6 separate regions of the Homo sapiens genome follow, and regions 1, 2, 4, 5 and 6 are each linked to region 3. Evidence: promoter capture Hi-C in human tissues and cell types (Jung and others, 2019). All regions are on one chromosome and are shown on one strand. Each heading gives the region's core, a stretch centred on a gene start or on the middle of the fragment in contact. The rest is flanking DNA. Distances are from core to core; before and after follow the strand shown. Region 1 overlaps HMGN3 (high mobility group nucleosomal binding domain 3). Region 2 has its middle 43 kb from the start of MIR10524. Region 3 holds the start of IRAK1BP1 (interleukin 1 receptor associated kinase 1 binding protein 1). Region 4 has its middle 12 kb from the start of MIR10524. Region 5 has its middle 24 kb from the start of HMGN3. Region 6 has its middle 9.1 kb from the start of MIR10524.

Region 1 (4,255 bases), core at 662-3,161, 350 kb after region 3:
GGACAGTGACTTGATCACGGTGGCTCAGTCTCCTTCATCCATGAATGATAGATGATAATGACAGCTAACTCAAAGGGTACTGCTTATGATCAAGTGAGATACTGGAGAAAGCATTTCATAAACTGTAAATTGTTACACAGAGGTTATGCAATAAAAAAGATCTTTAGTCTTCTAAATTATACAGTATGAAACTATATTCAACAGAGCCTTAAAGTTGAGCACATTTCCTTACATCCAGATTCCCTGCAAACTGGTTATCTGTTTTTGTTGCACAGAGTAACAGGTAGACTATTTTGGAAAGACCTACCATTATAAGCTGTCTTATCACATAACCCTCTCCATCAATTAACACTAAGCCACAGGCCGGAGACAGGAAGGAAGAGAGCATGGTTTTAAGGGATTAAAACAGAAACCCAAAGCTTTTTGTGCCAAGGGATTGCGAAGAATAAAAACATAGAAAGGAGGGAAACAAAAGGCTGGGGGTGGATATAGGGGATCTCAGATGTACTTCAACCTCCTGGCAGGTGGATGTGAAAGATGAGGAGAGTTAGACGGGATGCAGGGACTGCCAAGGCAAAGGGGGCTCTTGCCCCACTCTCCAGGACACAACAGGCTTACACTAATCCAGTTTGAACCAAGAATGGTCAAGAGGGCCCAAATCATGGTCAAATAAAAAGGTCTCATGCACGTATCCACGTCTGCAAGAGACGTTTTAACTTTTTGTTGTTGGTTTCTCATGCCTTTTAAGGAAGCTGCTTATGTGAGGATACTCCTGTATGCTCTCACCCTGTACCAGCCCTAGGCTTTGTTTCTTATCCCTTCTGGCACACCCCAAGAAGGAAAACAATGGGGAGTGGGGAGGGAAGGAATGCTTGCTCAATTAGATTTTAAGACTTAAAAATAATAAACAATATAGGTAACTAACACTTATACAACAATATGATACTTAAAAGAGACACCAAAAACTCAAGGATATAGAAAGCATGAAAATAAAAGGATGTTGAAAAAATATATACTTAGCTAAAATTAATTAAAAAGTAGAAACGACCTAAACATATGTCATCAGAAGGATATATACACTGTGGTATATAATCAAATAATATGTAGCAGTGAACACAAATGAACTACGGGTGTGCACATCAACAGAGATGAATCTCACAAACGTAATGTTGGGCAAAAAAGGGAAGTCATGGCACGATTTTAAATAAAGTTTGAAAATACAAATACAAGAAAAGTCTATAAAGAAAAGCATAACAAATGATAACTGCAAAATCATGACTGAGGTTACCTTTTGCTGAGGAAAGGGAGGGTAATTTGACTGGGAAAGACAAAGTCATTGGTAAGAGTTATATTTCTTAAGCTAGATGGTGGTTTATTATTATGTAAATAATATTTATTTAGATACTACATACGTATGTATGTTTTATATTAAAATGTTTTTGATTCATACAAAATAGAAATTTTGAAGCTAATAAAAGCAGGCTCATTGAAATAAAAAACTCAAAACACGGATAAACTCTAGACCAGACACAGTAGGAACTGCCATAGACTGCTGAGGAATTAAGAATGCAACAAAGAACAACAAAAGGATGAACAAAAGAGAGGTTAGGTGATGTGGTTAATTGAGAAGCTCCACAACTATCTAATAGGCATTTCAGAAGCAGAGAAAGAGGTATCAGTAGGAAGGCAAAGACATAATGACTATTTTCCCAAAGTAAAGTCTTGACTCCCCAGATTGAACACTCACACCAAGGAACAAACTGAAAACAAAACAAAACAAACAAAATAATACAACAGGACATATTGTAATAAAACTACAAAGCATCAAGGAAAATGAGAAAATCTGTAAAGTTATCAGAGTTAAGGCAGATTACCTATAAAGAATTACTTCTCCAACAACAAATACAAATGTATGAAAATATAGAGTACTATTCAAGGAGTTGAGGAAAACTGCCAACCTAGAATTCTATACCTAGCTATCATTCAAGAGTGATGGCAAAATAAAGCCATTTCAGAATACAAACATAAAGAGAGTTCACTTCCAACAAAGCATTTCTTTCAACAAGAATCTATTACTAAAGGTTCAAATTTAGTAATAAGAAAAACAAATCTAGAAGGAAGGAAAACTATGTAAGAAAAAAATGTAAAAAATATACTAATAAATTTAATTAACCACTAATCGTAAACAACATTACCTATTGTGTTTTTAAGTTTCAACAGAAATTCTACAGCAGTTCTTTCCTACAGAAATACAACATATAATTTTAGATTTTCTAATTGCCACATTAAAAAAGCATAAAAACAGGTAAAACTAATTTTAATATTTTATTTAACTGACTATATCTAAAACTTTATTATTTCACCCTGTAATTAATGCAAAAAAAGATTAATGAGATATTTCACAGACTTTTTTGTACTAAATCTTTAAAATCTGGTGTTCGTTTTATACTTAGAACACATTTTTATTCAAATGCTAAATTTTTATCAGGAACATCTAATCTGTATTTAGAATTCATAAAACTTACAGTAGTTTTACCCAGGTTGCTCCAAACATTTATAATTTACCAATCGCTGATTCTAATATCAGTTTTTAAACTTAAGTTGATTAAAATTAAATAACAAATTCAGCTCCTCATTCTTAAGTGTTTAATAAACTCATGCAGCTAATGGCTACCATATAGCACAGCTTTAGACAAAAACAATCATGAAAGATAGAAGTGGGGTCGGTAGATAAGAAGTTAAAGGATACTATGGTCCTGGTTTTGTTCTGGAGGATGATACAGATACAGATTAATTTTAGACTTTGTTAAAATAAAATTTAAAGTTACCATTAAAAAATGTAAGAACAGAAATAGGATCTATAAACTTCCAAATCAGGAGGGGTGGAATAAAACATATTTACCAATAAAAAGCAGGAAAGTAAAAAACAAAGGAAAACAAAGAATAGAAAACATAAAAAGTCCAAATAAATCAGCAATCACAATATACCTAGACATAGTATACCCTTCCATTATAATGACAAGTGACAGAGGGAAGAAACAGAGTAATACATGTACAGGACTACACTTCTACAAATTGCCTTTTTTGTTTTTTTGAGACGAAGTCTCACTCTGTCACCCAGGCTGGAGTGCAATGGCGCGATCTCGGCTCACTTCAACCTCCACCTCCTGGGTTCAAGCGATTCTCCTGCCTCAGCCTCCAGAGTAGCTGGGATTACAGGTGCGTGCCACCACACCTGGCTAATTTTTGTATTTTTAGTAGAGATGGGGTTTCATCATGTTGGTCAGGCTGGTCTCAAACTCCTGACCTCAGGTGATCCACCCACTTTGGCCTCCCAAAGTGTTGAGATTACAGGTGTGAGCCACCACGCCCCACCACTTATACAAATTTTAGAACATGCACAAATCAATATTATGGATGGATGGATGGATGTGTCATAAAGGTATAAAAGCAAGAACTGGAAGAATACACAACAAATTCGTGATGATGGTTATCTTTAGGGGGGATGATAAGGAAAAAGGAACCAAGGGGATGTTTCAAAGGAAACTGAACTTTAATAATTTATTTTCTAAAAAGGCCTGAAATGAACAATGATTTTTAAAAGACTCCAATTTGTGAATTCTCAGTGGTGGGTAAATAGGTATATTATATTATTTCCTGGATTTCTCTGTATTTATGTTTTTTTCTAAATAAAAATATTATCCATACTGGGGAGAAGAAAAAGACTAAAAGCAAACCTACTCTATTAAAAACAGTACCATATCTACTCCCTAATACAAATTACATAACTAGGTTTACTCACAGCATTTTTTCTATTTCTTCAATATCGTATCAATCTGGTTTATATTGCCTCCTCTTCTGTACAAGACATGTAATATAACTGCTTCATTTGTACTGATAATGAAGGCACTGGACTCAGAACTCTTGAAGGAGTGTGGGAGTCGAGATGGGCAGAGGGAGTGTGGATTCCTTCAACAGCTGACCAACTGTGCCATCCCCATTCTTTCTTTACACAAAGATGCCTGGGTCCTGCATGTGCAGAACACTCAAATGTACTGAAGGGATCAGAACTGTATTTTCCTTAAGTCTTTCCAGCAGTCCCTATCAGAAACCAAGGGAAGAAACTTGGAATTTTTATTCCATAGGCCATCCATGAAGAATCAACAAGGTTTGCTGACCTTCTTTCATGTAAACAGTGCTTACCACAACATAAACAGGCACTGTGGGGTGATGAGCCCAATTTTCTCCCTCCAAA
Region 2 (4,672 bases), core at 956-3,455, 370 kb before region 3:
TGTGTTCTCACATGGTAGGGGAGATGGACGGGCCAAATTCACCCTTTAAAGCTTTTTCATAAGGCCTCATCACCTTTTGAAGGCCTCGCCTCTTAGTAATGTTACACTGGGATTTAAATTTCAACCTGAATTTTGTAGGGGACATAAACATTCAAACCATAGCAGAGATTTAATTTATGTATACTAAAGATGAAGTTGCCTCTATCTCAGCTAACTTAATTCATTCACTTAAAAAATAGTTATTGAATGCCTAATATGTGCCAGAGATTGCTCTGGGACTAAAGACACACTGGTTAGAAAATTTATTAAATTAATAGTTTTAATGCTCCAGCAGCTCATTTATAATTAGCTAACCATTTCCAACCATAAATGCATACTTGAGTAAAATTATTTTTACAGTTGATGGCAGAATTTTCAGCAAAGGACATGGAGACACACCAATTATTCTGCCCACATTAAATTTAGACCAGGAGTAGGGTTGGTTATTAAACCTTCAAATTTATTATTCAAGCTTTGAGAGAAGCAAACACATGAATGACCAATTTTATTTTGTCCCAGTTTTCTGCTTCACTTCATACACATTTCAAGAATTTCATTGAAATGATCCATTTTTTCCCTAGAATCTAAAATCAGTTCCAGATCATCCAGTTCCTTGATCAGGAAATAATTGTCCCTGTGAGCCGAGCTAATACTTTCCTGCTGTAGTTCAAATTTATTTTACTAAGACACTCCTGGATTACAAGTTCAAATTATCTTTGATATTATAATGATTTGAACATATTTTGAATTATATTCTGAATTTTTCTTTTTCCACATACAAAAATTTAGACAGTATATAGATTTGTTTTGTTTTGTTATTTTATTATTATCATACTTTAAGTTTTAGGGTACATGTGCACAATATGCAGGTTACATATGTATACATGTGCCATGCTGGTGTGCTGCACTCATTAACTCGTCATTTAGCATTAGGTATATCTCCTAATGCTATCCCTCCCCCCTCCCCCCACCCCACAACAGTCCCCAGAGTGTGATGTTCCCCTTCCTGTGACCATGTGTTCTCATTGTTCAATTCCCACCTATGAGTGAGAATATAGTTTTTAAACTTTACAGAGAACTACATTTTACTAATTAATAACAGTCTAGTAAAGATGCAAGTAAGTTTTATTCCTGCATGGAGATCCTAATTGCTTTGTCTATATTCCACTTTCCTTGTAACAAATTCAGAGAAAGAGGAGCCTTCAAGATTATATTTCATTTACCACCCCCCAAGAAAAATAAAAAGAAAATAATTCAGAGCCTTTATACCGGGGGGGCTGCTTTGGCTTGACAATAAGTCAATACAGGCAGTTTGTCAAACTCCAATAAGCAAATTAATGCCTTGTCTGATCTATAGGACAAGCACATATGTGAAGTAGAATTATCATTATAATTTTAAAAGAAAACTAGAATGGGGAAAAATACTACTCACTATGAAAGCCTTAAAAAAAAGAAAAACAAAAAAAAAACCCTGCTCTCTTTTCACTCTTTTTGAACATTACTTTCAAGTAGGGAAAGGGGTCACCGAAACACCTTCAGTTTTTTAAAAGCCAGGCCAGGGAAAGACAAAGCCAGTAACTTTTAGGGTCCACCTTTCTTCCTCACCCCAAATTGTACCCCAGATGTACAATCAGAGAACAACACAGCAGCAGGAAAGAGGGTTTCCAAACCAGCAACCCCTGGTGACAATAAATGCTTCTCGTTTCCTCAGGGAAGCTCAGAATGGAAAGCTTCAGCAAATGGACCCATTTTAAGTCCGAAGGACCAGTGTCTGCTAGTTTAAGGCAAGAATAACTCAATATGAAATTCTGCCTGAATGAAGCCCTAAAATCTTTAGGGACAAATTTGCAGAACCAGATATTGAATGTGCACTTCTGTCTCCTTGCTTAGCAACATGCCCTGCAAGCAGAACACACAATCACATGGCAAGAAGAGGCTTGGATGATGAAAAGTCTGCTTTTCTCAATTTTTCCAATGTATTCAAGTCCTGAAGGCTTACCTTAAAAATCATTAGTGTCAAAGAAAATTAATAATAATGTGCACCCAGGGTTGATTCTAGACCATTTTAAAGTCAGCTATTTTCATTCCCAGCATACTAGCTCTCTCCTTTCAAAGACTTTCCCGGCACAGCTCTCCCTACTTAGACTCACTCTTGTCTCTTCCTCTGCCCACTCCTTTCCTCACCATCATCCAAACCCACCAGTTCCTACCTTCATATAAATCCAAGCCACTTTGCTACTCCTTCCAGGGATTTTTGAGTTAAATGGCATCTCCAAAAATGGAGTAAATGGCTGTGACCCCCACTGATGAAATGATAGACATAAATGAAAGAGGTAAGAGAATTATTGAAATTACCTTTTGGCCAACACCTTATAAAAACAAAGACTTCAAAATATGCTTTCTGTTTTTATCCTCAGGGGACTCTGTAATGGAGCAACTATTTTTGATAAATTTTCTTAACCTCAACATTTCTTTCTGTATCTTCATATAAATTTGCAAATATTCAAGATGTTATTTTTTTAAAAACCCTGGACCTTCCAGAACCTAGGTTCACTTCAACCTTACTCTGGAGCTGCCTTTGGCAGACAGTACATGCCCAAAGGGTATGCTGATTAAATTGCATTTGAGCTGGAGTGTGCAACCCAGGTTCCGATTGCTAGATAGCATTTTGGCTAACTCCATCTGTCCAGAAACTTATTGCAAAGCCAGGGACTGCGACTGGTATAGTAAGACAGTAAGACAATGCAGTTTGAAAACTAGTTTAGCCTCTGCTATGTGCCCAACAATTTACGTGCAAAAAAACTTAGAAGATCCCCTAGCAAAAGATATCAAATACATGTTACTATTGAACAGAAAGGTATGCCTTTATTCAGAGCATACTCATGTTTTATTTGCTTTTCATTTTTTTTTCTGAACTTTGATTTTAGGTTTGGGGGTACATGCCTAGGTTTGTTACATGGGTAAATTGCATGTCACTGGGGTTTGGTGTACAAATGGTTTCATCACTCAGGTAGTGAGCACAGTAATAGTATCCAACAGGTAGCTTTTCGACCCTCACCTTCCTCCTACACTCCCTCATCAGGTAGGTACCAGTGTCTATTGTTTCCTTTGTGTCCATGTATACTCAATGTTTAGCTCCCACTTAGGAGAACACGTGGTATTTGTTTTTCTGTTCCTTAGGATAATGGCCTCCAGCTGCATCCATGTTGCTGCAAAGAACATAATTATTTTTTCTGGCTTTGTAGTATTCCATGATATATATGTACCACATTTTCTTTGTCCAGCTCACCAGTGATGCACATCTAGGTTAACTCCATGTCCTTGTTATTGTGAAAAGTGTTGTGATGAACATATGCATGCATGTGTCTTTATGTTAGAACAATTCATATTCCTTTCGGTGTATACCCAGCAATGGAACTGCTGGGTTGAATAACAGTTGTTTTAAGTTCTTTAAGAAATCTCCAAGCTGCTTTCCACAGTGGCTGAACTAATTTACAGTCAGCAGTGTAAAAGCATTCCTTTTTCTCTGCAACCACACCAACAACTATTATTTTTTGACTTTTTAGTAACAGCCACTCTGGTGTAAGATGGTATCTCATTGTGGTTTTGATTTGCATTTCCCTAATGATTAGTAATTTTGAGCATTTTTTCACATGCTTGTTGGCCGCATGTATGTCTTCTTTTGAGAAACATCTGTTTATGTGCTTTGCCCATTTTTTAATTGGGTTGTATGTTCTTTGCTTAAGTTCCTTACAGATTCTGGATATTAGACCTTTGTCAGATGCATACTTTGCAAATATTTTCTCCCGTTCTTTAGCTTGTCTGTTTACTCTGTTGATAGTTTATTTTGCTGTGCACAAGCTTTTTAATTAGGTCACCCTTATCAATTTTTGTTTTTGTTGCAATTGTTTATGGAGACTTCATCATAAAATCTTTGCCAAGGCCTATGTCCAGAATGGTATGTCCTGCATTTCCTTCTAGGGTTTCTATAGTTTTAGGCTATAAAGCCTTTACATTTTAAGGCTTTAATCGATTTTGAGTTAATTTTTATATGGTAAAAGGTAGGTGTCTAGTTTCAGTGTTCTGCATGTGACTAGACAGTTATCCCAGAGCCATTTATTGAATAGAGTCCTTTTCCCATTGCTTGTTATTGTCAACTTTGTTGATGATCAGATGGTTACAGAGGTATGCAGCTTTACTTCTGGATCCTTGAACCTGTTCAATTGGTCTATGTATCTATTTTTTTGGTACCAGTACCACGCTATTTCGGTTACTATAGCCTAGTAGTATAATTTGAAGTTGAGTAGTAAAATGTCTCAAGCTTTTCTCTTTTTGCTTAGGATGGCTCTGGCTATTCAGGTGCTTTCTTCTTGTGGCTAATGTGAATGGAATTGTGTTCTTGATTTGGGTCTCAGCTTGGACATTACTAGTGTTCAAGTATTACATTAGCATTATAGAAATGCTACTGATTTTTTGTACATTGATTTTGTATCCTGCAACTTTACCAGAGTTGTTTGTCAGATCTAGGAACCTTTGGGCAGAGACTATGTGGTTTTCTAGGTGTGGAAGCATATCATCTCTGAAGAGAGAGAGTTTGACTTCCTCTATTCCTATTTGGATGGCTTTTCTTTCT
Region 3 (4,682 bases), core at 1,601-4,100:
CTTCTCTTTCATATACTATTAATTTATAGTTCTGTCACAAAGAATTAATTCATTCTTCTTTCAAAATCCAGTATTATCTATTCCTTCTCCATTCTCACGGGCTTTGTTATTTGCCAAAATGATAGTTCAAAAACAGACATTACACTGTAGTTAAATTTGCATTTCTTAAACTACTGGTGAGGATAAACTATTTTTTTTTTCATCCTATAGACTACTAACATTTCTGCTTTCTTGGTCTGTATTGTGGACTTGTGTTCCCCAAAATTCGTATGTTGGAGTGCTCTTCAATGTGACTGTGTTTGGAACAGGGCTTTTAAGAAGGTAATTAAGGTTAAATGGAAGTCACAAAGGTGAGGCTCTATGAAGAGACATCGGGGTAATGTGCACAGAGGCAAGGCTATGTGAGGATGCTGCAAGAAAGTAGCCGTCTGCAAGCCAACCAGAAAGGCCTTGGGGGAAACCAAAACTGCTGACACCTTAATCTTGGACTTCTAGGCCCCAGAACTGTGAGAAAATAAATTTGTGCTGTTTAAGCTCCAAAGTCTTTGAAGCCGAAAGACTTTTGTTATGGCAATAGCAATCTAATACAGTTTGCCTCAGTGTTCATTATTTTTCTTTTGACACGTTTGTTTCTTCTAGCAACAGTTCTCTAAGCATTAAGACTCTTAGCCCTTTATACATAATAAACATTAACAAACATTTTTCCCCATTTATTTGCCCCCCCACCTTTGTTTTTATTTTGCTTTATATAACTGATTTTTTTTAGTATAGTCCAATTTTTCAAACTTTTCCTTCATGGTTGCTGCACATGAAATTATGATTAAGGCCAGCCTTCCCATCCCCCAGAATATTTATATTTACATATAGGTTCTTCCAATTATTTTTCTTTTTGGTCTCATCTGAATTATTTTCAATGTATGATATAAGATACAAATTCTTTAAAAATATAGCTTACAATGGGCCAGGCACCGTGGCTCATGCCTGTAATCCCAGCACTTCGGGAGGCCGAGGTGGACGGATCACGAGGTCAGGAGATCGAGACCATCCTGGCTAACACGGTGAAACCCCATCTCTACTAAAAATACAAAAAAATTAGCCGGGCGTGGTGGCGGGCACATGTAGTCCCAGCTACTCGGGAGCTGAGGCAGGAGAATGGCGTGAACCCGGGAGGCGGAGCTTGCAGTGAGCCCAGATCGCACCACTGCACTCCAGCCAGAATGACAGAGCGAGACTCCGCCTCAAAAAAAAAAAAATATATATATATATAAAATATACTATAGCTATATAGCTATAGTATATTATATATATAGCTTACAATTATCCCTGTACCATGTAATCATTTTCCACTGATATGAAATCTTTTATCGTATACTAAATACTTACACTTTAACTCCTGTTGCTTTTTGTTTATGACATTCACTCATTCAATAATTTATTTTGGAGGCTATATTCTTCCGCATTTATCGTAAGGGAAAAAGAATTTTTCACCAAGTTTAAGAAACATTATTTTGGGTGTCTTAAATAATAAAAGACTATGACGGAAAGTTCTTAACGTTAGTTTTTAAATTAAAATTGTTTTCAGCTAACAATAAACAAGATGGATATACACAAAATTATGTTAATCTAGTGATGAGCCTAATTAAAGGAGGGGGGTACCATTGATTTAGTTGAATTATACTAATCGAAAAGAACAGAAAAAACGATGGTGAAGAAACTACAAGAGGACTGTCAGCTTTTCAGGGTCCTTTTAAAAGAACAGTTCTTGTCCTTCTAGAACTAGTTATTCAAAATTCTTTTTTCCCCCCTCGATTCTCTTGATAAAATTCAGATAGTAAAGACGTATAAGTCAGTGGGGCTATTTTTACAAAGATCATTGCTTAGTGCTAGGAAGAGAATCCAGAAGACGGGAAGTTGAGGGTTGTGTTCTAAAAGTTCTCTGAAGAAAAGGGTACAGAGAAGCTCCAAGTTGTGCAGGCCCAGCAAACTCCATGTTGGACGTGCTTTGCTACCACCTAAATCTCTTCTGTCGGAATTCAAGGCCCGAACCATTCCAGGGATTTTAGAAAAAAATGGGGAGACACAAAAATGATGCCAAAGCCATAGCTATCATTACAAACATCCATTATGTTCACTCTGCTTTCCATATGCAACGCACTCTACATACAATGGGCGCCTTATAAGCACATAGCAAATGTGAAAAATATTATCAACATTGCTTTGATAATATTAATATATTATATATATTAGAATATATTATATATTAGAATATATTATATATATTAGAATATATTATATATTACTAATATAAAAAATATTATCAACCCTGCTTTAGAGAAGATGATACTGAGATATGAAGAATCATAAACTGTCCAAGATCACAGGGGCAAAAAGTTCACCTCAACTGAAACCTCTCACGAACCACAAAAATGTGGCCGAGGGAGCCTCAAAAAGCAGTACCCCAAGCGGGGACGGTAAAGTCAGAAAAGACAAGGCTGGGGGTAATCACAGAGAAATCTAAAAACCCGCTCGGCCTCGCTACTCTTCTCCTTCCTCTGAGGTGCAGAGGCGCGGTGGGACGACAAGGAGTTGCGAGAAAGGGCAGAGCTCACTGAGGAGGCAACAGAGAAAGTCCGCTAACAATTTTTGAAGGCCGTAAGTTAAACATGTTAAAAACTGTAGCTACTCACTCAGCCGACATCTAGTAAAAAAGATGCGGCAAGATCAACAAGGCATATAGCTTGCGCCCGCCAGAAGTTCCGCGGCCTCCACACCCATCCCGGCATACTTTGCGCCGTGCACAGGCAAGCCCTGGTGCGCATTGGCCCCTTCGGCCGCCGTCGGCCGGTAGTTACTATGGAAACCCAGCTGCCATCGCTATGTCTCTGCAAAAGACCCCTCCGACCCGAGTGTTCGTGGAACTGGTTCCCTGGGCTGACCGGAGCCGGGAGAACAACCTGGCCTCAGGGAGAGAGACGCTACCGGGCTTACGCCACCCCCTCTCCTCAACACAAGCCCAAACTGCTACCCGCGAGGTGCAAGTAAGCGGCACCTCAGAAGTGTCTGCGGGCCCTGACCGGGCGCAGGTGGTGGTGCGAGTGAGCAGCACCAAGGAGGCGGCAGCCGAGGCCAAAAAGAGCGTTTGTCGCCGTCTAGATTACATCACGCAGAGCCTCCAGCAGCAGGGCGTGCAGGTGAGATCTCCGCGGGGGAGGAAATAAGAGCCGGAAGACACAAAAGGGTTGGCAGATGGTCGGGCCCCACAGGCCCCCCTAGCGGGAAGGGAGATGTGGAGGGTCTGGAGCGTTTAGGACGCGTTTGTTGCAAAGGTACTCCGGGACGCCAGGACCTGGCAGAGTGAATATTTGACCCATTCTTCTCCTAGACGAAGGTAATTATTGGCCTCAGGCAAATTAAAAATAAAAGAATGCAAATTGGGTAGGTTTTTATCTGGGGATATTTGCTTCAGTGATTTTGTTTTTAAATTTAAAGTGATGAAATGTTAAAACTTGAAATGTTAGTTGTAAATACTTGCCCACGTGGAGTGCTGGACACTAAATATTTTGTTTTGTTTTGTTTTTATTCCGCACCATGGAATTGGCAAGTGAAGAGCACGACCTGCTTCCTTCCGATCATGTAAAACTTTGCATGGAATGGTTCTTGAGTATGTTCCGCAAACAGTAACGTTGGGAAGTGGGGAAGAAGTTGCGTCCATTTTCATTTTATAATGATTTTCATTTTATAGTGATTCCCCCAAAATTTCTTCGGCCTTCTTAGGTTTAACTTAAAAGAAAAAATCAAGCCAGTATTGTGGATACCACATATACGAAATACTTCTACTTACTTAACGGAGATGTCCATGAGACAAATCACTAAACAAATCTTACCTTAAGCCTACTCCTAAGGCAAGAAAAAAAATGAAGCCATCATTTAATCCACACAATAGCACTGTTAGGCATGTTTTAATATCCCTGTTTTCCAAATTTAAAGAGGTTAAACAATGCTCTGAACTTTAGGTAGAGCAATATTTGAACTCATGTATTCCTGAAACCAGAATGTAAGTTGCTTCCAATTCTGCCGATAATTAGAATGAAAGAAAATTAGAAATCATAGGGATCAACGATTTCAGTTTTCTCATTTTATAGAGTAGGACCCCAAAGGCCAGAGATGTAACTTATCCAGGATGACATTGAGTTGGTAAAAGTGCAGGCATTGTTACTTCCAGTCTATTGCAAGAAATTCCATACCCCGAAAAAGCAAGTCCTTATTTTTAACAAGAAAAGATATTTGAATTGCATTTATAATACAAACATACAAGTTATTACAAAGTCATTTGGACAAGATTTCTTCAAATGATTTTACAATTTAGAAAAATACAGATAATTATAAATAATGTGAGTAAAGTGGGTTTAATATGTAGAAAAATAGTTTTAAAAAACTGCTACTAGTGCTGTAGTCGTTTGAATAATGTTAACAAGTTTTTAAGTTATTTACATAAAATAAAAAGAGCTCACAGGTCTCTAATATATAAAACAACATAAGCTGGGCATGGTGGCTCATGCCTGTAATGCCAACACTTTGGGAGGCCAAGGCAGGTGGATCACTTGAGGCCAGGAGTTCGAGACCAGCCTGGCCAACATGGCAAAACCCAATCTCTAGTAAAAATACAAAAATTAGGTGGGCAT
Region 4 (4,562 bases), core at 999-3,498, 340 kb before region 3:
TAAATATGCCACCTGAAGCATCAGCCCATCTCACAGAGCCCCAGAATCTTCCTGCCACTCCCAGACTTTATTTTTATTTCTGGCACATGAGCATGAAGCACACAATCACATAGAAAGGCTGAATCTTGGAGAGCTGAGTGAATGTCAACTTATATTTCAAAAGGTGTTTTTCTGTTTCAGAAGACATATCATGTGCTCATTAAACATCCACCTACAATCAGCTCTGATGAAGAGTGGACCCTGATCCACCTCTTACAGATTTGCTTGAGAGCTTTAAACCCTTCTAATCTCAGGCTGGTTCACATTTGACTGCTGAAGTTTTAGCTGAGTATTCAGCTGCAATCACCACTTTATTTGATTATTTAAATAGAGAAATTCATTTTTTTCTCTTCACGCCTTTAATCTTTTCCTTATTAACAAAGAAGGCCTTAGGTCAGAAGGTGGGCAGGGATATAAAGCAAATTACTGATCTTTTTGGAGAAAATCTCTGTTCAAACATAAGGCATTATTGCATCTGGCTCTTCTAAAACTGAACTTCCTGCCCTTTACAAAACTTTTACCTTCTGTAGGGTTTTACGAATAATTGAAAACACCTATATTTGTGTTTTCTTAAGTAGTTCCTACATATTCTTTAGTACTGCAAGATAGGACAGTAAAGTGGAGACAGATTGCCTGGGCTCATACACCAGCTCTGATAATTCCTGTGCTTCTTAACCTTCCTGTCCCTCAGTCTGCTCATCCGTAAATTAGTCCATCATGGGCACAAGGTTGGGCTCTATAATCTTAGCTCTTATTTCTTAAAACAACCTGCCTAAAACATATTTTAGAAGTTCAAATTAAGTTAAACTGAATTTTTACTTCCTTTGCAGTTATCCATCATCAGGACCTGTCTCCTTCAGCAATAAACTCCAAGGGTTGCACCTTGAAGAAACCCTTTAATTTTTTGAGTTTTGATTTTCCTGGTCTATAAAATTGAGACAATAGTGATCCTTGCCTCATATAAGTGTTATCTAGAAAATGAAGCAAAGAATGGAAAACTGTTGTGATTCTGAGATCCTCCACCTGGCCCAAGGAAGGAAGGAACAACAAGCTTATTTCACATAAGAGCAGACGGAGTTGCTCTACTGAAAGCCAGAGTAGTGATGATTAGGTAAACAATGAGTAGCCTGGGATCTCCAAAAGGCAAGCACAGAACTGGATAGGATATCAAAATCAAAATAAGTCAGAAAGGAACAAAATACAGAAGTAAAAATAATTCAGGTATTGGAGCAGATAGGATAATTTTTCTATTTTTTTTCCCCCAAACCAAGGTCCCCCCCTGCATACAATATCCCCTAATATTTGCAATAATGTTAAACAAATGTGTAGCAAATGAACAGTTGAATGCTCAAAGAGCCAGATTCTCTAGTGGAGAAAGAAAGGAGATTAAAACATTTGGGCTCACATGGAAGAGAGGGCAAAGGGGAGGGTTTGGCCAGAGTGCAAGATGTCTGGGAGAACTGGCACAGTCCTCTTTTGTTCCATTCAAATTCTCATCCACCCCTCCATCTAAGGGAAACACATTCAGAAACCGGCCCACAGGCCTGCCAAAATTGGGCACTAGACATAGTAATCAGTCAAGCTGGTCTAATAACTATTAGCATGGAATAGTTGGTTGAATTCTCCCAGAACACAGATGGGCTGGCTGTTGAGAGGCATTGTGCAGGATTCAAAGGTCAAGTTCAAAGCAGGGAGGTGCTTTTCCCTAGTCAGGAAAGCCCCCACGGAGTTTTTTTCAGTCCAGTGTGTCTCAGTCCTTACTGCCACCTGAATTACCTATGGATCCTCTCCCTGTTCAGCAGGTCTGGGAGAACCTTCAAGATTCTGTACTTCTAACAAGCTCCCAGATGCTGCCACTTTTGCTGCTCCAAGACAGAATCACACTTTGTGGAGCGGGGGTCTAGTCCTCTGCGCAAGTCCCACAGAAACCAAGTATGTTGGCAGGGGCGTGACCTCTGAGAGATTTCACAAGAGGTAAGAGCTCATGTGTTGGTACATCTCTTTGGTGCTCTCTAGAGGTTGGAAAGGTGTGGACTCTTTTGCCCAGGTTTGTTCTCTGGGGAGTGGATAGATTCTCCTTCTCTCATGAAGGTGTGTGTTGGAAAATAAAATGTTTGGGGCATGCTTCTAACATGCTCTTCCAAGCATGTTAGAGATCCCCTTGTGAGACTGTCATTCTTTTTATAGATCAGAGGTAAGAGATCAACCCCAGTGGTCAGAACTACCACTGGGCTGGAGCCAAAACACCCAGATGTGACATAATGGGGTGGGATTGAATTATCTCTAAGAACTTGTCCTGTTCTAAAGTGATATCATTCTAGCTTTTAGTTCTTTTTTTCATCAACATATGGGGAGTTTTTTTTTTTTGTTACTGTTTGTTTTCATCAGAGCTAATGTGCTATACCCTGAACAAATGGGGGAACATAAAACATGTTCATCCAATAGTGAAAGAGATGATGCTTCTAACATGTTCTCTGGGGAGTGGATAGATTATTCTCCTTCTCTCATGAAGGTGTGTGTTGGAAAATAAAATGTTTGGGGCATGCTTCTAACATGCTCTTCCAAGCATGTTAGAGATCCCCTTGTGAGACTGTCATTCTTTTTATAGATCAGAGGTAAGAGATCAACCCCAGTGGTCAGAACTACCACTGGGCTGGAGCCAAAACACCCAGATGTGACATAATGGGGTGGGATTGAATTATCTCTAAGAACTTGTCCTGTTCTAAAGTGATATCATTCTAGCTTTTAGTTCTTTTTTTCATCAACATATGGGGAGTTTTTGTTTTTGTTACTGTTTGTTTTCATCAGAGCTAATGTGCTATACCCTGAACAAATGGGGGAACATACAACATGTTCATCCAATAGTGAAAGAGATGATGCTCCTTTTGGAGACATCTGATTATAAAAGTAGTTTAAATAAAACATGCAATTAACAAAGGAGAGAAAACCTGCAAAACCTGCTTTAAAAACCTCTGCGCGGTCCTACGAATTCATCCATTTTCTGTGACACAGACAAAATTAACTTTTCCTTTTTATGTTGAACATTAGCCTATAATCATTTTGAACTAAAAAAGTCTAAATATACTGAATATCCTATGATCATCTCCTTCAAGTCTTTACTCTTGTTTGTTTTCCCAAGAACAACCATCATCTTCTAGCAGATTATATAATTTAGATATTTCTTATGAATAGGGCTTATTGCCTATCATCATGCCAAGATGGGCCTCTACCTCATAAGAGCAGAAACCATTTTTTTCACTGAAAAACTTAGAATAGTGTTTGGTTTACAGAAAACACTCAAAAAACAACTTAAACCACCTTGAATATTGTAAGTCCAAACCTCTAATTCTATTCTCATGGGAAGATAAAATGTAAGGATAAAAACAGAGAAAGAGGAATACATTTGTGCATACTGATTAATCTTTACATTATGCATTGCACTTACTGGATGATTAAAAGCCTTCAAAGTTTTAGAATAAGCTTTACTAGTTAGTTATACCATCTAATGTGATTTATTTTTAAATTATCTTTCATTGAAAAGATATTTAGAAATCAAAGAGAAGAAATAGTAAGAATTGTAGTAAAGCAGTTTAGTGCAACTGATTTAATGACAGCAGAGACAGGTGAGGGTAAATTTTAATTTTCTTCCATTTTAAATACAGATGACTGGTTTGTTTTTATTTGTCAATATCTGTCCATCTTTGAAGACAGCAGAATCTTGATAACCTTTCAAATACTGACAAAGCCCAGTATTATCAAGAGCTCTCACGTATCCACAAAGATGCCATGGTGGAGATAAAAGTGGAAGTGAGTCCTTAGCAATGAAAGATGCTCACATCACATCACCTGCACCAGGAGTAACTGAGCAGTACCATCATTGCCTCTGCTGGCTTCTTCAATCGATGAAACTTATCTAAGTGCACAGCCTCCTTGTCCCAGGCATGTTTTAATTCTCCACTACAAAGCCTTTCATTCAATCATCTTCTGTGTACTAGTGCCTTAGGGAAGTTCTCTTTCATGTGGAATACATCAGTTTAGGTAACTGGAGAAATGTTCTTTTTATTGCTGCATTTATCTCTCAGTAATCCATTTAATAATAACAATTATAATAACATCTTGTATTTAAACAGTGCCCTTAGCACTGTTTTCTCTTCAGTCAGGGACTATTTCTTTGGTAGTTTTCCTCTCAATGACTACACATAAAATGTAGAGATGTAAAGAACTGAATCCTTGAATTATAAATACAACTTTACTGTATCATTTAGTCAAATATGGTGATGCCCAGAACAAATTACTGCAGACTGTTTTGTGATTTATAGTAGATGTGCCAAACTACTCATAAAATCCAGGCTCGATAAAATCTGGAAGGCCTTTGAGAAGAGATCATCTGCTACAAACACAGGCCAACAAGAGAATGCAGGGCACACATTTTCCTTGTGTCACATGGCACAGAAGAAAGAGCATTAACTTCAGAGTCAGAAGGACCGACAGTGAAACTGAAATTCTGGTTCTGCCCTTAGCTG
Region 5 (4,265 bases), core at 1,195-3,694, 390 kb after region 3:
TTTTGTCTCAGAGGAGTACCTGGCTGTGTGAAATGTCAGTCCGCCTCTACTGGGGGATGCCTCCCAGTTAGGCTACTCGGGGGTCAGGGACCCAGTTGAGGAGGCAGTCTGCGCATTCTCAGATCTCAAGCTGTGTGCTGGGAGAACCACTACTCTCTTCAAAGCTGTCAGACAGGGACATTTAAGTCTGCAGAGGTTTCTGCTGCCTTTGGTTTGTCTGTGCCCTGCCCCCAGCGGTGGAGCCTATAAAGTCAGGCAGGCCTCCTTGAGCTGTGGTGGGCTCCACCCAGTTTGAGCTTCCCGGCCACTTTGTTTACTCAAGCCTCGGCAATGGTGGGCGCCCCTCCCCCAGCCTTGCTGCCATCTTGCAGGTGATCTCAGACTGCTATGCTAGCCATGAGCGAAGCTCCGTGGGCGTAGGACCCTCCAAGCCAGGTGTGGGATATAACCTCCTGGTGTGCCGTTTGTTAAGCCCGTTGGAAAAGTGCAGTATTAGGGTGGGAGTGACCCAATTTTCCAGGTGCCCTCTGTCACCCCTTTCTTTGACTAGGAAAGGGAATTCCCTGACCCCTTGTGCTTCCCAGGTGAGGTGATGCCTTGCCCTGCTTCAGCTCATGCACGGTGTGCTGCACCCACTGTCCTGCACCCACTGTCCGGCACTCCCCAGTGAGATGAACCTGGTACCTTAGTTGGAAATGCAGAAATGACTCGTCTTCTGCATCGCTCATGCTGGGAGCTGTAGACTGGAGCTGTTCCTATTTGGCCATCTTGGCTCCACCCCCTTGGCTGGCTTCTTTACCATATGCTGTTTTATCAGCAAGGTCTTTGTGACCTTTCTGTAGGTTGCCTGTTCACTCTGATGTAATGTTATTAAGTTTTACTTTTGCTGGAAAATATGATTTGACCTCCTATCTCATCCTGTGACTAAGAATGACTTAACCTCCTGGGAATTCAGCCCAGTAAGTCCCAGCCTTATTTTTACCCAGCCCCTATTCAAGATGGAGTAGCTCTTGGTCAAACGCCTCTGACATATTTCACCCTTCCTTTTTATAAGAGAACCCTTAATCCTAAGTGTTCTAGAGCAGCAAAGATCCATCTTCTGTAACTTCTTCAGGCTGAATAGGGGTGATGATATTCTTGCTTAACTATTAGGGTCTCTTGTATTTGGGGTAGAGAGGAGCTCAGTCAGAAAGCATCAGTATGGCCACTTATAACTCCAAGTTCCAACAAAAGGTGATATCTGGAAGATTAATAAGTGTTTGATTTAAGAAAATGTTTTGTAAGCTTATCCTGCATTCCTACACAACGAGTACAACAGGAATATATTGCACAACAGTAAAGCAAAGTAAGTAAAATTATCCCAAGTAAACTAAATAACAAGACTCTCCATGAACTGGGCAACTGTTGGAAACAACCTGATGTGGGGTTGCTAGCTGATGCCAATACATACCCAGAAATAGAATACTAATCCAGATTTTTACATTACCGGTCCCTCCTGTTTCTTTTGAGCACTGGCCAGAGATCACTGGTTGGTTCACAGGAATAAGCAGGGTTAGTCTAAATTGCTGGGAAAAAGAAAACTCAAAAACAACTGATGAGACTAGAATCAAATAACAGGTATACCTTAGTTCTTGAAACATAATTTTCCTCTTTCCAGTTTCCCATTTTTACTAAAGACATATCATGGGAAGACCAATTTGCTTTATTATACTTGGCCTGATTATTGGTATAAAGTGCAGCAAGGATACTTATTTTTCATATAAGCTTTTTACATTGGCTTTTATGGAACTTTGTTCCATAAAAGGAATCTCAGATAAGACTGTTTTTAAACCTGATCCTAGCCATGAGTTTTTATCATCAAATACCTATGAACAGGGTAAATTCCTCTCTTCTTGAGGTACCAAGATAACCTGGGGCTCCTGGGCCTGTTAGAAAGTGACATTCTTTACTTACCACAGGTCAGGAACCCTGTACAGGGACTGTGTAGACAAGGTATGAGGCCAGTTTTCCAAAGAGCCTTTTATTGGCTCTATAAGTCAAGTTTGATTCCTTAAAAGAAAGCAAGCCACTCCAGTCAAAGCCTTGGTAAAATAACCAATTTCTCCAACTGTCTTGTTACAAAATAATTCCTTTTTTTGGTAAAGTTTTTTTTTTAAATTTTATTTTACTTTAAGTTCCAGGATACATGTGCAGAACGTGAAGGTTTGATACATAGGTAAACATATATAATTGATACATAGGTGTGACATGGTGTTTTACTGCACCTATCAACCCATCACCTAGGTATTAAGCCCCACATGCATTAGTGGTTTGTCCTGATGCTCTCCCTCACCTCTCTCCCCTGACGGTCCCTGGTGTGTGTTGTTTCCTTCCCTGTGTCCATGTGTTCTCATTGTTCAGCTCTCACTTATGAGTAAGAACATGTGTTGTTTGGTTTTCTGTTCCTGTTTTAGCTTGCTGAGGATGATGGCTTCTAGCTACATCTGTGTCCCTGCAAAGGACATGATCTTATTCATTTTTATGGCTGTGTAGTATTCCATGGTTTATATGTACCACATTTTCTTTATCCAGTCTATCATTGATGGGCATTTAGTTTGATTCCATGTCTTTGCTATTGTGAATAATGTTGCAATAAACATACATGTGCATTTATCTTTATAATAGAATGATTTATATTCTGTTGGGTATATACCCAGTAATGGGATTGCTAGGTCAAGTGGTATTTCTGGTTCTAGATCCTTGAGGAATAGCCACACTTTCTTCCACAATAGTTGAACTAATTTACACTCCCACCAACAGTGTAAAAAAAAGCATTCCTATTTCTCCACAGCCTTGCCAGTATCTGTTGTTTCTTGACTTTTTAATGATTGCCATTCTGACTGGCATAAGATGGCATCTCATTGTGGTTTTTATTGCATTTTTCTAATGATCAGCAATGTTGAGCTTTTTTTCATATGTTTCTTGGCCACATAAATTTCTTCCTTTGAGAAGTGCCTGTTCATATCCTTTGCCCACTTTATTTTTTTGACCTTTGTTAAAGTCTGTTTTGTCAGAGACTAGGATTGGAACCCCTGCTTTTATTTGCTTCCCATTTGCTTGGTAAATTTTCCTCCATCTCTTTATTTTGAGCCTGTGTGTTCTTTGCATGTAAGATGGGTCTCCTGAATACAGCACACCAATGAGTCTTGACTCCTTATCCAATTTGCCAGTCTGTGTCTTTTAGTTGGGGCATTTAGTCCATTTACATTTAAGGTTAGTTTTGTTATGTGTGAATTTGATCCTGTTATTTGATCCTGTTATCATGATGCTATTTGGTAATTTTGCACACTAGTTGATGTAGTTTCTTTAGAGTGTCATTGGTCTTTATATATTGCTTTGTTTTTGCAGTGGCTGGTACCAGTTTTTCCTTTCCACATTTAGTGCTTCTTTCAGGACCTCTTGCATGGCAGGCTTGGTAGTAACAAAATCCCTCAGCATTTGCTTGTCTGGAAAAGATGTTATTTCTCCTTTGTTTATGAAGCTTAGTTTGGCTGGATATGAAATTCTGGGTTGAAAATTCTTTTCTTTAAGAATGTCGACCATTGGCCCCAATCTCTTCTGGCTTGTAGAGTTTCTGCTGAGAGGTCCACTGTTAGTCTGATGGACTTCCCTTTGTAGGCAACCTGGCCTTTCTCTCTGGCTGCCCTTAATAGTTTTCCTTCATTTTGACCTTGGAGAATCTGATGATTATGTGTCTTGGGGTCAATCTTCTTGTGGAGTATCTTAATGGTGTTCTCTGTATTTCCTGAATTTCAAAGTTGGCCTGTCTTGCTAGGTTGGGGAAGTTCTCCTTGATAATATCCTGAATATTGTAGGTTCAGTCTTTTTATGAAGTCCCATATTTCTTGGAGGCTTTGTTTATTCCTTTTTATTCTTTATTCTCTACTGTTGTCTTCATGTCTTATTTCAGTAAGGTGGTCTGCAAACTCTGATAGTCTTTCTTCTGCTTGGTCGATTCCACTGTTGATACTTGTGTATGCTTCACGAAGTTCCTGTGCTGTGTTTTTCAGCTCCATTAGGTCGTTTTTGTTCCTCTCTAAACTGGTTATTCTGGTTAGCAATTCCTCTAACTTTTTATCAAGGTTCTTAGCTTCTTTGCATTGGGTTAGAAATGCTCCTTTAGCTCAACATAGTTTGTTACCCATCCTCTGAAGCCTACTTCTGTCAATTCATCCATCTGATCCTCTGTCAGTTCTGCACCCTTGATGGAGAGACGCTGCAATCAT
Region 6 (4,573 bases), core at 531-3,030, 320 kb before region 3:
TATGATCCTGGCTTTTTCTTAATAAAGTAATTGTGTGTAAGAACCATTATATTCAAAAGATACCTGCACTCATATGTTTATCATAGCACTTTTCACAATAGCAAAGTCATAGAATCAACATAAGTGTCCATCATTGGATGACTGGATAAAGAAAATGTATATATATATATTATATATATATATATATGTGTGTGTGTGTGTGTGTGTGTGTGTGTGTGTGTGTGTATACATGGTGGAATACTACTCATCTATAAAAAAGAATGAAATTATGTCTTTTGCAGCAACATGGATGGAACTGGAGGCCATCATCTTCAGTGAACTCAGAAACAGAAAATCAGATACTGCATGTTCTCACTTACAAATGAAAGCTAAGTAATGTGTACACATGGACAGAGAGAGTAGAATAATGGACACTGGAGACTTGGAAAGGTGGGAGGGTGGGAGGGGGATGAAAAATTACCTAATGGGTACAAAATGCACTATTTGGATGATGTTTACACTAAGAGCCCAGACTTCACTATGCAATATATCCATGTAACAAAATTGTACTTGTACCCCCCTAAATCTATAAAACTAAAGACATTTTTAAATTTTAAGAAAAGATTTCAAAGGAAGTGTTAAACATGAGACAACCCAGTATAAAGGGAAGAGATTAAAAATTTAGCAAGATGCACCAAAAAAAAAAAAAAGTAAAGGATGTGAGTTTGAAATAAAAATGTGACAGAGCACTAAGGGTACTCACTGGTGAGCAAACAGATGTTGGAGATGAGTTAGAATGAGTCCCCAGTAACTAAAGAAAAAGACTGAGTCTAGGCACTGTGGGACACAGAAACAAAGGAATCGAGATTACAGGGAGGGTAGCATTTAGTGAAGAAATTATCCAAACTACAGTAAAAAGGGATACCTATTGGATTTCTGATCTAATATATATTGCTGTGTTTAGATTTCTTATACAGCATACTTATCGCCAAATATTGAGACATCCAATTCTGTAAACGGTTTTTTTTTAATTTTTATTTTACTTTTACGTTCAGGGGTACATGTGCAGGATGTGCAGGTTTTTACATAGGTAAATGTGTGTCATGGGGGTTGGTTGCACGAATTATTTCATCACCCAGGTATTAAGCCTAATGCCCATTAGTTATATTCCCTGCTTCTCTCCCTCCTCCCACTCTCTACCCTCCAATAGGGCCCTAGTGTGTGTTGTCCCCTTGTGTCCCTGTGTTGTCATCATTTAGCTGTCACTTATAAGTGAGAACATGCGGTATTTGGTTTTCTGTTCCTGTGTTAGTTTGCTAAGGATAATGGCCTCTCCAGCTCCATCCATGTCCCTGCAAAGGACATGATCTTGTTTTTGTGGCTACATAGTATTCCATGGTCCATATGAACTATATTTTCTTTATGCAGTCTATCACTGATGGGCATTTAGGTTAAGTACATGTCTTTGCAATTGTGAATGGTGCTTCGGTGAACATATGTGTGCATGTGTCTTTACATAATAGAACGGTTTATATTCCTTTGGTTATATACCCAGTAATAAGATTGCTGGATCAAATGGTATTTCTATCTTTAGGTCTTTGAAGAATCACCATACTGTCTTCCACAATGGTTGAACTAATTTACACTCCGACCGACAGTGTAAAAGGATTCCTTTGTCTCCACAACCTAGCCAGCATCTGTTGTTTGACTTTTTAATAACAGGCATTCCAACTGGCATGAGATGGTATCTCAATGTGGTTTTGATTTGCATTTCTCTAATGATCAGTGATGCTGATCTTTTTTTCATGTGCTTGTTGGTCACATATATGTCTTCTTTTGAGAAGTGTCTGTTCATGTCCTTTGTCCACTTTTTGATGGGGTTTTTTTTCTTGTGAATTTCAGTTACTTGTAGATTCTGGATATTACACTCCTAAACTAAGTTCTACCTTGTAATTTTTAAGTTAACACATATTTATAAGGAGAAAGTTGTTGAAATTAGTCTCTCATCCAATCAAAGCTATAAATATGGCTGGTAGAACAAGGGGTTCCATTGGTCAGTGTCTGTGAGTTGGATGAGTTGTGATTGTTTAATATTGTTTATCTAGAGGCCAGTGTTTGTTTGGCTGATAGAGAAAGAAAAATCTGCGGCGTTAGAACATAGTTTATTTTTCAAGTGTAGGGATATGTGACTTAATCCTTGTCTGGCATGGCATTAGGTCTTGTTTATACTTTGATATCTTCTTGTCATAAAGAGTCTACTCTGTCAGTCTTACAATCTCTATTTTAACATTAATGCTGGTCAGTTGTTGTGTTTAGACTGAAAAAGGGAGAAGGGTGTATAATGAAGAGTGTCTGGGCTCCCATTCTATCATAGCTGAGAACTCAGTTAAGTATATTGGGGGGGTCTCCTTGGCTAAGAGGGTGTTTCTTTAGTTGATGGGGAGCTTAGAATTTTATTTCTAGTTTACATTTCCCCCACTTTGGGCCAAGATTTGCCGCAGGCTGCATCTATGGCCAAACTTTCATTTTGTCCCATATTGTTGGGGTAGCATGGCTACCTGCCTGGGGTCTATCCTGTCCCTTGGTGGGATCGCTGTGGCCAAGGGACTTAATAGAGTCAAAAGATTTATAGTCAATTAAATGTTTTAGTCCAGATGGAAATGGAAGTAGGCAGGTACTCACTTATTCCTAAAATCCTTTAAGTAATACAAGAGCCAAAACCAAAAGCAAGATTATAAAATTGACTTATGTATAAGTTTTATGTGTTGAGTCATCAGCTGTTTAGGTATTTGCATACCCATCTTTGATTTGGAGGGTCTGAACTAATTTTCTGTCTTGAAACTGGCCCTTATAATCTTATATGCCCACCTTTTTGTGATAGTCTCTGGACATAGAGGTAAGTTGCTCAACATAGTTTAGATTTAGTAGTGTGCTGGCAATGGAAAATAGATTGGCCTAGTGGGATTAAATAGTTTTTAAATTTTGGACATAGTATTAAGTAGAGAAAGAAAAGTAATATTTGTTGTTTCATTCAATTTTTGTAAGCTATAGTTTTAAATTAAACTGACAAAATAGCTTGTTTAATACATTTATATACACTAAAAATAAAAGCTTAAGCCTTCTACCAACTAAATAGACCCCCTCTTAGCTAAGAAGACTCCCCAAAAAACTTGAAAATTGAGTTCCCAGCCATGATGAAATGAGAAGTCAGACATGCCTTGTTATGCCCCTCCTTTTGGAGTTTAGACACAACAGCTGACCAGCATTAGTGTTAAAATAGAGATCATAAGACTGACAGGACAGACTCTTTGTGACAAAAAAAGATACCAAATTATAAACAAGACGTAAGGTCATGCCAGGCAAGGTGCCATAACTACAGCTTTGATTGGACAAAGAGACTCATTTCGGTAACTTTCTCCTGATAAAACATCTACCAACCACGGACTGGTTCTGGCCAGTTTGCAGAGACTGTGCACTTACGTGCCTCCATGTCCTGAAAAGACTATTTGACATATAAAGCCTAATTACAATACATTTAAATGTTAAACCTTCACCCCCAAATAAACATGGGTCATATATACATCAATTTGTTCGATACACATATATCAGGACCACCTTCATAACTATTCATAACTCATCCTATAACCTGTTAAATATATATGCTTAGCCAACTTGTTCAACATAAAACTCCTACCCCAACTTATCTTCACTCAAAATGCCTACTAATGGCTTTGGCCAGAGGCATGCTTCCCAGTCTGCAAGATAGCCACCTTACAGTCTATAACCCTTTACAAAAAAATAAAGTATCCTTCCTAAATTTGTAGGTCCTGTGATTTTTTAACTTGACACACTGAGTCCTGTTTTTGGCTGGAGGTGCACTTCCTAGCCTGCCAGCATGGCCACCTTTATAAGAAATAGTCTCTTCTTTTCAAATATTTTTTTTTGTAAGTTACCATATCTTGTGATGAGGATTTTTCACTTAAATGTGTAAAATAATATATGGAAAGTGCTTAGCATACTGCCTGATATGTAGCAGGTACTTAAAAACTAGCACCTGTCATATTATTACTGATACATTCACCTACTTCCTGTTTTCTTCAGGCCTCTTTCCTAAGGAATGCTGAGGTGTTCACCAGTTACTGAAGAAGAGGAAGTCACTAAAGGGACTTAAAGTCACTATTACACATTGTGACACTTCCTATTATTTATTTATTTTTTATTTCTTTTTATGTATTTTTTTTTTGAGACAGAGTCTCGTTCTATTGCCCAGGCTGGAGTGCAGTGGTACAATCTCGGCTCGCTGCAACATCCTCCCCCTGGCTCAAGTGATTCTCTCGCCTCAGCCTCCCGAGTAGCTGGGGTTAGAGGCATGCACCACGACACCCAGCTAATTTTTGTATTTTCAGTAGAGACTGGTTTCACCATGTTGGCCAGGCTGGTCTTGAACTCCTGACCTCAAGTGATCCGCCAGCCTCGGCCTTGAAAGTGCTTCGATTACAGGCCTGAGCCACTATGCCCAACCCTCTTCCTATTATTTAAATGCTTTGGGTGTTTATGTTGCCTCCTCTACAAGAAAGTAACGCAGTAGATCATT

What was found. The method cuts DNA at HindIII sites, captures the fragments that hold promoters and counts their contacts. A contact is called where the count stands out against the background at its distance.
Region 1: a contact is called between a fragment that was not itself captured here and the fragment with the promoter of IRAK1BP1 in region 3, in 1 of the 25 tissues and cell types used here (spleen).
Region 2: a fragment that was not itself captured here is called in contact with the fragment with the promoter of IRAK1BP1 in region 3 in 1 of the 25 tissues and cell types used here (small bowel).
Region 4: a fragment that was not itself captured here is called in contact with the fragment with the promoter of IRAK1BP1 in region 3 in 1 of the 25 tissues and cell types used here (thymus).
Region 5: a fragment that was not itself captured here is called in contact with the fragment with the promoter of IRAK1BP1 in region 3 in 1 of the 25 tissues and cell types used here (adrenal gland).
Region 6: a contact is called between a fragment that was not itself captured here and the fragment with the promoter of IRAK1BP1 in region 3, in 1 of the 25 tissues and cell types used here (H1 embryonic stem cells).

The regions. Positions count from the first base shown.
Region 1 is chr6:79,217,371-79,221,625 of GRCh38, forward strand. The region is part of intron 1 of HMGN3 (high mobility group nucleosomal binding domain 3); the gene reads right to left. Among named protein-coding and RNA genes, the nearest start is that of HMGN3-AS1, 14 kb to the right of the region's middle. The HindIII fragment of the contact is 4,303 bases long and covers 1-4,063 here.
Region 2 is chr6:78,494,472-78,499,143 of GRCh38, forward strand. No RefSeq gene overlaps it. Among named protein-coding and RNA genes, the nearest start is that of MIR10524, 43 kb to the right of the region's middle. The HindIII fragment of the contact is 3,849 bases long and covers 282-4,130 here.
Region 3 is chr6:78,864,701-78,869,382 of GRCh38, forward strand. It overlaps IRAK1BP1 (interleukin 1 receptor associated kinase 1 binding protein 1), which reads left to right and starts at 2,851. Exons shown (of 4, transcript NM_001010844.4): 1 at 2,851-3,191. The coding sequence starts at 2,877. It overlaps LOC107986613 (a long non-coding RNA gene), which reads right to left and starts at 2,790. Exons shown (of 2, transcript XR_001744210.2): 1 at 2,688-2,790. RefSeq lists enhancers at 2,746-2,855, 2,886-3,205, 3,038-3,638. The HindIII fragment of the contact is 12,955 bases long and covers 1-4,682 here.
Region 4 is chr6:78,524,603-78,529,164 of GRCh38, forward strand. No RefSeq gene overlaps it. Among named protein-coding and RNA genes, the nearest start is that of MIR10524, 12 kb to the right of the region's middle. The HindIII fragment of the contact is 4,934 bases long and covers 1-4,562 here.
Region 5 is chr6:79,256,672-79,260,936 of GRCh38, forward strand. No RefSeq gene overlaps it. Among named protein-coding and RNA genes, the nearest start is that of HMGN3, 24 kb to the left of the region's middle. RefSeq lists an enhancer at 209-1,408. The HindIII fragment of the contact is 4,719 bases long and covers 86-4,265 here.
Region 6 is chr6:78,546,153-78,550,725 of GRCh38, forward strand. No RefSeq gene overlaps it. Among named protein-coding and RNA genes, the nearest start is that of MIR10524, 9.1 kb to the left of the region's middle. The HindIII fragment of the contact is 5,619 bases long and covers 1-4,573 here.